Regions from separate parts of the Homo sapiens genome. Here region 2 is linked to region 1. The links are contacts of gene promoters, found by promoter capture Hi-C in human tissues and cell types (Jung and others, 2019). All regions are on one chromosome and are shown on one strand. Each heading gives the region's core, a stretch centred on a gene start or on the middle of the fragment in contact. The rest is flanking DNA. Distances are from core to core; before and after follow the strand shown.

The links. Contacts are between HindIII fragments. The study calls those that stand out against the background at their distance.
Region 2: a fragment that was not itself captured here is called in contact with the fragment with the promoter of DCLK2 in region 1 in 2 of the 25 tissues and cell types used here (IMR-90 fibroblasts and hippocampus).

Annotation. Positions count from the first base shown.
Region 1 is chr4:150,075,516-150,079,888 of GRCh38, reverse strand. It overlaps DCLK2 (doublecortin like kinase 2), which reads right to left and starts at 1,444. Exons shown (of 16, transcript NM_001040260.4): 1 at 441-1,444. The coding sequence starts at 861. The HindIII fragment of the contact is 8,036 bases long and covers 1-2,967 here.
Region 2 is chr4:150,284,907-150,288,728 of GRCh38, reverse strand. It overlaps LRBA (LPS responsive beige-like anchor protein), which reads left to right. Exons shown (of 57, transcript NM_001364905.1): 54 at 2,695-2,796. Among named protein-coding and RNA genes, the nearest start is that of DCLK2, 210 kb to the right of the region's middle. RefSeq lists an enhancer at 82-582. The HindIII fragment of the contact is 4,591 bases long and covers 1-3,822 here.

The sequences.
Region 1 (4,373 bases), core at 195-2,694:
GCTTCTGACAGCAGTCACAACAGGACCCCGAATACTGGAACATGACAGGAGCCTGCACCAGGGTCCACACCGAGGGTCCAACAGAGCTTATTAGTAGGGGATTACCCAGCTCCCCATGGGAGAACCATTTTCTCAAACAGTTTGCACTTCAATACAAATAAGTTCAACAATCTTAGGAGATGCCACCAGTGCCTAAATTGGCCTGACCATCAGGAAATTTTTTCCTTCTTTAAGAGACAAACCTCTTGGGAAGGAAAGTCAGTGTGTATGTGGGCACCCCACCGGCCCCCACCCCCAGCCAATCTCTAGAGAAGCAGACAGAAGCATCAATTCCCGTGCGGCTTGGAAAGCACCCCGCGGGCTCCCCGCTGCGCCGGCTCACGCCCACTGCACCTGCCGGCGCTCCGCCGCACCTGCCGTGCGGCGCCCTCCCCTCCTACCTTCCAGCAGCTCGTCCAGGCTGGTGACCTTCCGGCTGCCGTCGATGGTGTAGATAGTGCGGACACCCTGGGGCAGGTTCACGTTGTCCGACAGGGAGCGGGTGAGCTCTATGAGGAGCGCATCGAAGGACCGGAAGCGGTCGCTGGAGATGGCAAACACCAGGCCCTTGAAGTAGCGGTCCCCGTTCCGGTAGAAGCGCGCCTTCTTGGCCTTCTTCTCCGAGCTGAGGGCCTGCAGGGTCCGCGTGCGGTAGAAGCTGCAGTGGGCACTGTGCGCCGGACTGGGGATGAGCCCGTTCCCCTTGGGGCCCGAGCTGCTGCTGCCCCCGGAGGAGCTGGGGGCCCCTCTCCGCGACCCCGGCCGCGGCCTTTTGTCCCGTTCCTCAAAGTGCTCCAGCTCGATACTCCTGGTGCTGGCCATCGCGGCTGCTCCGAGGGCGTCCGCAAAAAGACGTTCCGGGCCGACTAAGGGTGCGAGCGCCGGTGCAGGGACGTCTGACTGCGAGGGCCCTTAACGCGCCGGGACACCTGGCTCTGGCATCCCGCCCTCTCCGCGCAGGTGGGGCCGAGGAGCCGCGGAGGAGCCGACCCGCCCGCGCCCTCAGCTAAAAGTGTCCGCAGCGCCGAGCTGCCCAGGTCATTGTCCAGTGCGACTTGCTCCGTGCCTCCCGCCTGCCGGGGAGCCCCACGCCCCCGCAAGCGCCTCCTCCACCCGGCCACGCCTCACAAGTCCCGCTCGGGAGCCGACCGGGAGAGGCAAAGTTGGGCCGCCCGAGGCTCGCGCTGGGCCCGCGGGCGCCCACAAAGCTCGGGCGTCTGCCGAGCGCTCCCGGGAGCGCCGAGGGGAGGAAGGAAGGAAGGGTGGGGCGGGGCGCGGAGCGTGGGAGAGGCCCCCGGGGGAGTCGCGCGGGCCCAGGCCCGGGGTGCAGCGCCGCCGCCTCGGCCGCGCCCGGATCCCGCCCGCCGGGCAGCGCGCGCCGTTCGGGGCTGAGAGGGCCGTGTCTGGCCCCTTCCTTCCCTGGAGCGCGGCCCTAGCGGGAAATAATGCAGCCCGCCTCCCACGCAGCGGTCAGGCCCGGCCCACTGGCAAGCATCCGCGCTCTGGCCTCCCTCCGCCGCCGACAGGCTGTCAGCGCTGGAGGAGGCTTCCCGGCCCCGGGGATGCCAAACCGCGGAGAAGGGGAGGAGGGGGCGGAGGAGGGGGCGGAGGAGGGGGCCGAGCGCCGGCGCGGGAGGAGCAGCTCCTGCGGGTCCCGGGCAGCCCCGCCCGCCTGACGGCTCCTGCCCGGCGCCGCGCGTTAATGGGCGCAGCCGCGACGCGCGCTCCTCCGCCTGGGAAACGTAACCGCGCAGGCCAAAAACTACAAAGGAAGGAGATTCAAGGGCAGGGAGCACATCCCCAGCCAGCATCCCAGTGAGGACCCCAGGCCAAACTACCGCAGAAATCCGAAGCCCAGCATTGACTTGGGGCACACCATTCATTTTTTTTAAAAAAGATTTGTTGCTTTATTAGAAAATCCTTTGAGAAAACAGCCTCCACTGTTTCCATTGCAGATTCGCTAATATGGTACGTTCAGTAACTTTGAATGAATGATGAGAAGTTATTGGGTGGTAGAGGGGGTTATGTAATCAACGAATATTTATCGAGAGCGTACCATGTGTCAGGCATTGTTTCTGTCACTGGGATGCCCTAACAAAGGAAAGAGAGACTCTGCACCCACTCCCCCCGCCCCGCATATTTAATGTTGTCAATTAAAGCTTCTTACCTAAGAGGCCTATCATTTGTGAGCACCCATCATAGTGGAAATCTTAATGCCGTAGTGTCTATTCAACAATAAAAACATCTTTTCCAAGACTTAAGAGAAATACTAGTTACTTGCATTTTGTTATTAGGAAAAATAAAGCTCAAATATGTTTGATCCCAATTTGGCACGTGAAACCTTAGAACATTCAACACCTGGTTTTCTGAGCAGCCCTAGACAGCAATCCAAACTGACCTTTCAGGAAGAAAGGCATAGTTGCTTTTTTTCGGGTTGAACTGAGTCCTGGAAGAGCATGAATAAAAGAAGGTAGAAGCACATGCAACGGTCTAGCATCTGTGAAGTTGGTGCGCCCCACCAAACACACGCACACACACGCATACACACCCTTCATGGCAGCTCCAGAAAGGTCTCCTGCTCGGTGCACAATACTACTCCTAAGGCAGTTCTGGGCATACACCTGGGCATACCTAACTTCCTGCGGGGTTGGGGCATGCTAGGAAGTCAGAGCTGATCTGAGGCTTCAATGTAGTTTTTCTAGAGGAAAATCCTGCAGCATCATTAGGTCCACCACCTTAAAAGGCCTCAACCTAGATCAGTTAAATCAGAATTTCTGGAGACGGGCTTCTCCAACAGTATTTTTTTAAAAGTACCCCTAAGGTATATCCAGAGTTTCCAACCACAGGCTGTAACACCAGGAATCAAATAAATCAGTGCTTCTTCTCAAACTTTAATATATTTACATGTCATAGGGGAATCTCGTTAAAATGCAGATTGCTATTCTGTAGCTCTGGGGTGGAGTTTGAGATTCTGCATTTCTGATGAGCCCCTGGGTAATGCCAATGCTGCTGGTCTTGGTACAAGACTTTGAGAAACAAGAAACTAAATTGCAAATTTATTGAGATAAGTTTCCATCTAAGTACCAGTAACTCCACAGAGCCCATCAACTTGCCTTAAGATGGCCATGTTCATTTGTATCACTGTTAGTATTTCTTAGGGGGAAAAAGACTTTGTAAACTATTGCTGTAGAAACAAATTATCCTAAACTTAATGATTTACAACAATAAACATGCATAATCTCAGCATTTTTGGCAGATCGGAAATCTGGGAGCAGTTTACCTCAAAGCCTCATGTGATTGCTGTCAAGATGTTGACAGGGGTCACAGCCATCTAAAGGCTTGACTGGGTCAAGAAGATCCATTTCCAAGACAGCCCATTCACATGAATGGTAAGGAGGCCTCAGTTCCTTGTCATGAGTACCTTTCCATAGAGTTGCTTAAGTGTCACCATGACTTGTCGGTTGGCTTCCTCTAGAGCAGGGGTGTCCAATCTTTTGGCTTCCCTGGGGCACATTGGAAGAAGAATTGTCTTGGGCCACACAGGAAATACACTAACATTAATGATGGCTGATGAGCTAAAAAAAAAAAAAAAATCACAAAATCTCATAATATTTTAAGAAAGTTTACGAATTTGCATTGGGCTGCATTCATAACTGTCCTGGGCTGTGTACAGTCCACAGGCCATGGGTTGGACAAGCTTGCTCTAGAGAAAGCATCCAAGAGAGCACAAGGTGGAAGCCACAATGTGTGTTATGATATAGCCTTGGAAGTCATACACTGTTATTCCCACAATATCCTGTAGGTTACACAAGGCAGCCCTGTTTGATGTGGGAGGAGACTACACTAGGGTGTGACTAGGAGTCAGCAATTATTGGGGTCATCTTGCAGACTGGTACCACGGGTTTCAATCTTTCAATCTTTAGAACACTAACATGCACTTCCTCACTCAAAGATCCTTGATAAGAGATTTGGCCCTTCTTAAATAGTGAGTACAATTATACAATATGCCAGTATTTTTAACTCAAGGTGGATTAAAGACTTAAATGTAAAACCCCAAACCATAAAAACCCTAGAAGAAAACCTAGGCAATATCATTCAGGACATAGGGATGAGTGAGGACTTCATGGTGAAAACACCAAAAGCAATTGCGACAAACGCCAAAATTGACAAATGGAAATAAAGAGCTTCTGCACAGCAAAAGAAACTATCACCAAAGTAAACAGTCAACCTACAGAATGGGAGAAAATTTTTGCAGTCTACCCATCAGACAAAGGTCTAATATCCAGAATTTACAAGGAACTTAAACAAATTTACAAGGAAAGAAACAACCCCAT
Region 2 (3,822 bases), core at 479-2,978, 210 kb before region 1:
GTTGCCAATGGATCTAATTAGACAGTAATTTCAGAAACAACATTGTATGGTATTTTTGTGGAATGTACAGCCTTCTGGGGAAAAGGAAAACCAAGAATCAGGGCTAAAGTATTGATAACTTCTTATTTTATTATTTTTTTGAGACGGAGTCTCGCTCTGTTGCCCAGGCTAGAGTGCAGTGGCGTGATCTCGGCTCACTGCAACCTCCACCTCCCAGGTTCAAGCAATTCTCCTACCTGTTAGAGGTGCACACCACCACGCCAAACTAATTTTTTGTATTTTTAGTAGAGGCAGGGTTTCACCATGTTGGCCAGGCTGGTCTCTAACTCGTAACCTCAGGTGATCTGCCCACCTTGGCCTCCCAAAGTACTGGGATTACAGGCGTGAGCCATTGCGCCCGGCCAATAACTTTTTAAAACAGTATACTTCTTCCTAAAATTTGTGGATCCTGGCTGGGCGCGGTGGCTCACGCCTGTAATCCCAGCACTTTGGGAGGCCGAGGCAGGCGGATCACGAGGTCAGGAGATCGAGACCACGGTGAAACCCCGTCTCTACTAAAAATACAAAAAATTAGCTGGGCGCAGTGGCGGGCGCCTGTAGTCCCAGCTACTCAGGAGGCCAAGGCAGGAGAATGGTGTGAACCTGGAAGGCGGAGCTGGCAGTGAGTCGAGATCGCACCACCGCATTCCAGCCTGGGCGACAGAGTGAGACTCCGTCTCAGAAAAAAAAAAAAAAAATTTGTGGATCCTAACAGAAGCTTAAGTAGTTCAGATTGGCTTACATTATTTGCTTTATTTCTTTAAAATTTTCCCAAATTTCTGGACTTTGTAAGAAACAAAATTGCTCTTGTGACAAATTCTTTGTGGCTTGGGAAATGTCAACTTTCTAATTAAGGTAAGTTTGCCTCCCAAAGAAGTGTTAAAACTTGGAATCAAATGAAACGAAGCCCCTTGTTCTGCCTACCCCCTTGCCTCTTTGTATGTTATTTTTGGTCTCCCTTTATCACTAAGCCTGTAGGCTAGGTCCAGCAGCTGGCTGCACATAGCACGCCAGTGTGGTGCAAAGTTCCGTGTGGCATTCCTTCAACTTAAGTCTCACTCAGGATTACCTACAGTCACCAAAGCCTTGAAGGACATTGTAGGGACATGGCCGTGCATTATGTACTCTGGTACATGCATTGGAACTGTCCTGTGAAAAGCTAGACCTGAAGTGACTGCTGGCTCCAGGTGAAGTGGGGCTACAAGCACAGAGACCAGACCTCCCTTCAGGGTAGAAGCCTCTCACCTTTTCTTGTTCATGGACCTCTGTCCATTCAGTAAAACTTATTTTCCTCCCCTGCTACCTAGAAAAACAGGCATGTAGATACATTTTGCATAAAATTTCAAATAACCCAGTGACCTACTGGAAGAACCCTTGCTTTGGAAGCCGGGTTAGTTTTCTGACAGCAGCATTTGCCTTTCCAAGTACAGTAGGTTTCCAGTGGGTTTCCCCTGAGCTGCTGGACTTCCTTCCTCTGAGTGGGTGACTGCTCCAAGGATAGTCAGGTGTCTGGGGTTAAGATACAAGCGATTCTCTTCCACAGAGTTCCATAGCTGGTGGTAGCCACTTACTCTGTGGGCACATTTGTCTCTTCTGGATTACACAGTGTTAGTTATCAAGCATACTATAAAACCAATCCAAATCAAGAAATCGGGAATGCTAATAGAATCCTGCTCTCCACTTGGAAAGACTTTTTGTATCTTTACCTTTAGAGACTATAAAAGTAAAGGATCCGTTTAGTCTTCAAATCATATTCTTCAGGCTAGACATGGAATCCAGTTTATCCTTGTGGCTTGGCACGAACCCATCCACAAATCAAGACCATTACCATTTTACTTAGTCATGATGGGTTCCTTATTAACCAACCAACCAACCAACCATACGTTTTCTTTTTAGTTTGGGACAGACATACAGGATGACTTGTTCTTTCAAGTTGTGAAAGTATTCGGCAATATCTGCCAGTTTTTGGATACTCCTCCTCTGTCCCCCCTTCTCTACCCACCGCCCCTCATTTTCAATCACTATCTGTAGACTTATCTGTAAGGGTTTGGTTTTTTTTTAGGTGTTTCTTATATTGGGTTTTTTTTCGGTTATTTGAATGAACCACAGAGAAATATATCCATGAAATTTATATATCAGAAAAATACATAAGCTTAGTAGAGAGAATACATATTTAAGAGAGGGGCTGCAGAATTACTGTGGGGGTAGCAGAAGTCTAGTTCAGACTGTCTTCATTATGATGGGTTTCAGCGGCCCACAAAGGATGAGGAAGGAGGAAGGAGGGGCGAGGCCTTTCTTTGAAATGTAAATTGAGCCAAAGTTCCTAATTTTATAATCATCTGACCATAAAACATCTAATTGAGGGGCTGATTTTTTATGAGGCATTTTGGAATGCAGATTTTGTTGTATTTAACCCTGAGTTTTCAACCATTGTTGCTTGATAATCACATAAAGGTTACTTGACATTTTAGCAGGATGTGGCCCTCATAATCAAACTATAGTATGTAACTTGGATCTAGTCCTAAAGTAGGATTGCTGGACAAATTCCCAAACTATAAATTAAATAGGCATGATGGAAATTAGGAGCAAGTTGTTGATTATTTAATATGCATGAAATTGAATTGATTTGTTCTTTTTATCTGTTTTTTCCTAAAGGTGAGACTGCTGCTCCTCGGGCCATTTTGACCGGCCATGACTATGAGGTCACATGTGCTGCGGTGTGTGCGGAGCTAGGCCTGGTGTTGAGTGGTTCACAAGGTAAACCTGTGGTACCTTCACAAAATGGATGCATTTCTTGCTGTCTTCTAGAAACAAATTACCAAAGATTAATTTGGTACCTTTTTTCTAAAGCTTCTGTCTGTTATGATAGCCATTAGTCATATGGAACTATTTAAATTATTTAAAATTAAATAAAATTAAAATGTAAGTTTCTTCGTGGCACTAGCCACATTGCAGGTCCTCAGTACTCACATATGGCTAGTGGCCACTACATTGGACAGCACAGATACAGATCATTTCCATCATTGTAGAAAGTTCTGTTTCACAGCACTGCTCTAAGGAGTTTAAGATGTTTTTACAAACATATCCTGTTAATATTCATATTCCCCTGAAGCAGGAACAAGGAACGTCTTTGTATATTTGTTTATTCTTCTGAGCTATTACTGGGCCAGGTTCCGTCTTATATCTGAATGGAAGCCCCTGACCCTGTCTGTTTTAATGAGGCAGGGGCCACAGTGGCATTGAGAGTGGAGTAGAAAGATACTTAAGCTGGTTTGCCTGGAGGTTTGTGCTGGAAACAGCATTATATATTTAGGCCCAAGATATTAAGCGAGCTTAGAGCACATGCAACAAATCAGGATCTGACTAGGAATGGAGCTGTTTCCAATTCGTTGCTTACTTATCCCATCATAATAGTCTATCCATCTCTCTGTCTCTGCTCTGAGCTGAAGTCTGAACACACAACAAAGTATTATATCTCACATCTTTTGGGTTTATCTGGTGGGGAAACAGAGTATTTGGATCAGCTCCTCTGTGTCCTAAAATGTAATACTTATTAGTCTAGTTAATAAGGTGTTTTAAATATTTAAAGGATTATGTTTATAAATTTGGTCAAAACATTGAAATAGTAATAATGATAGCAATAATTCTATAACCACTGGATTTTTCCCTTATACTCAATAATTTCATACGTCCTGAGCCAACAGGAGTCGTAAAATGAACCTATTATATATTACAGGTCATCTTTTCTTTGCACAGTAGTATGGAACTGTAAAAGTGAGCACG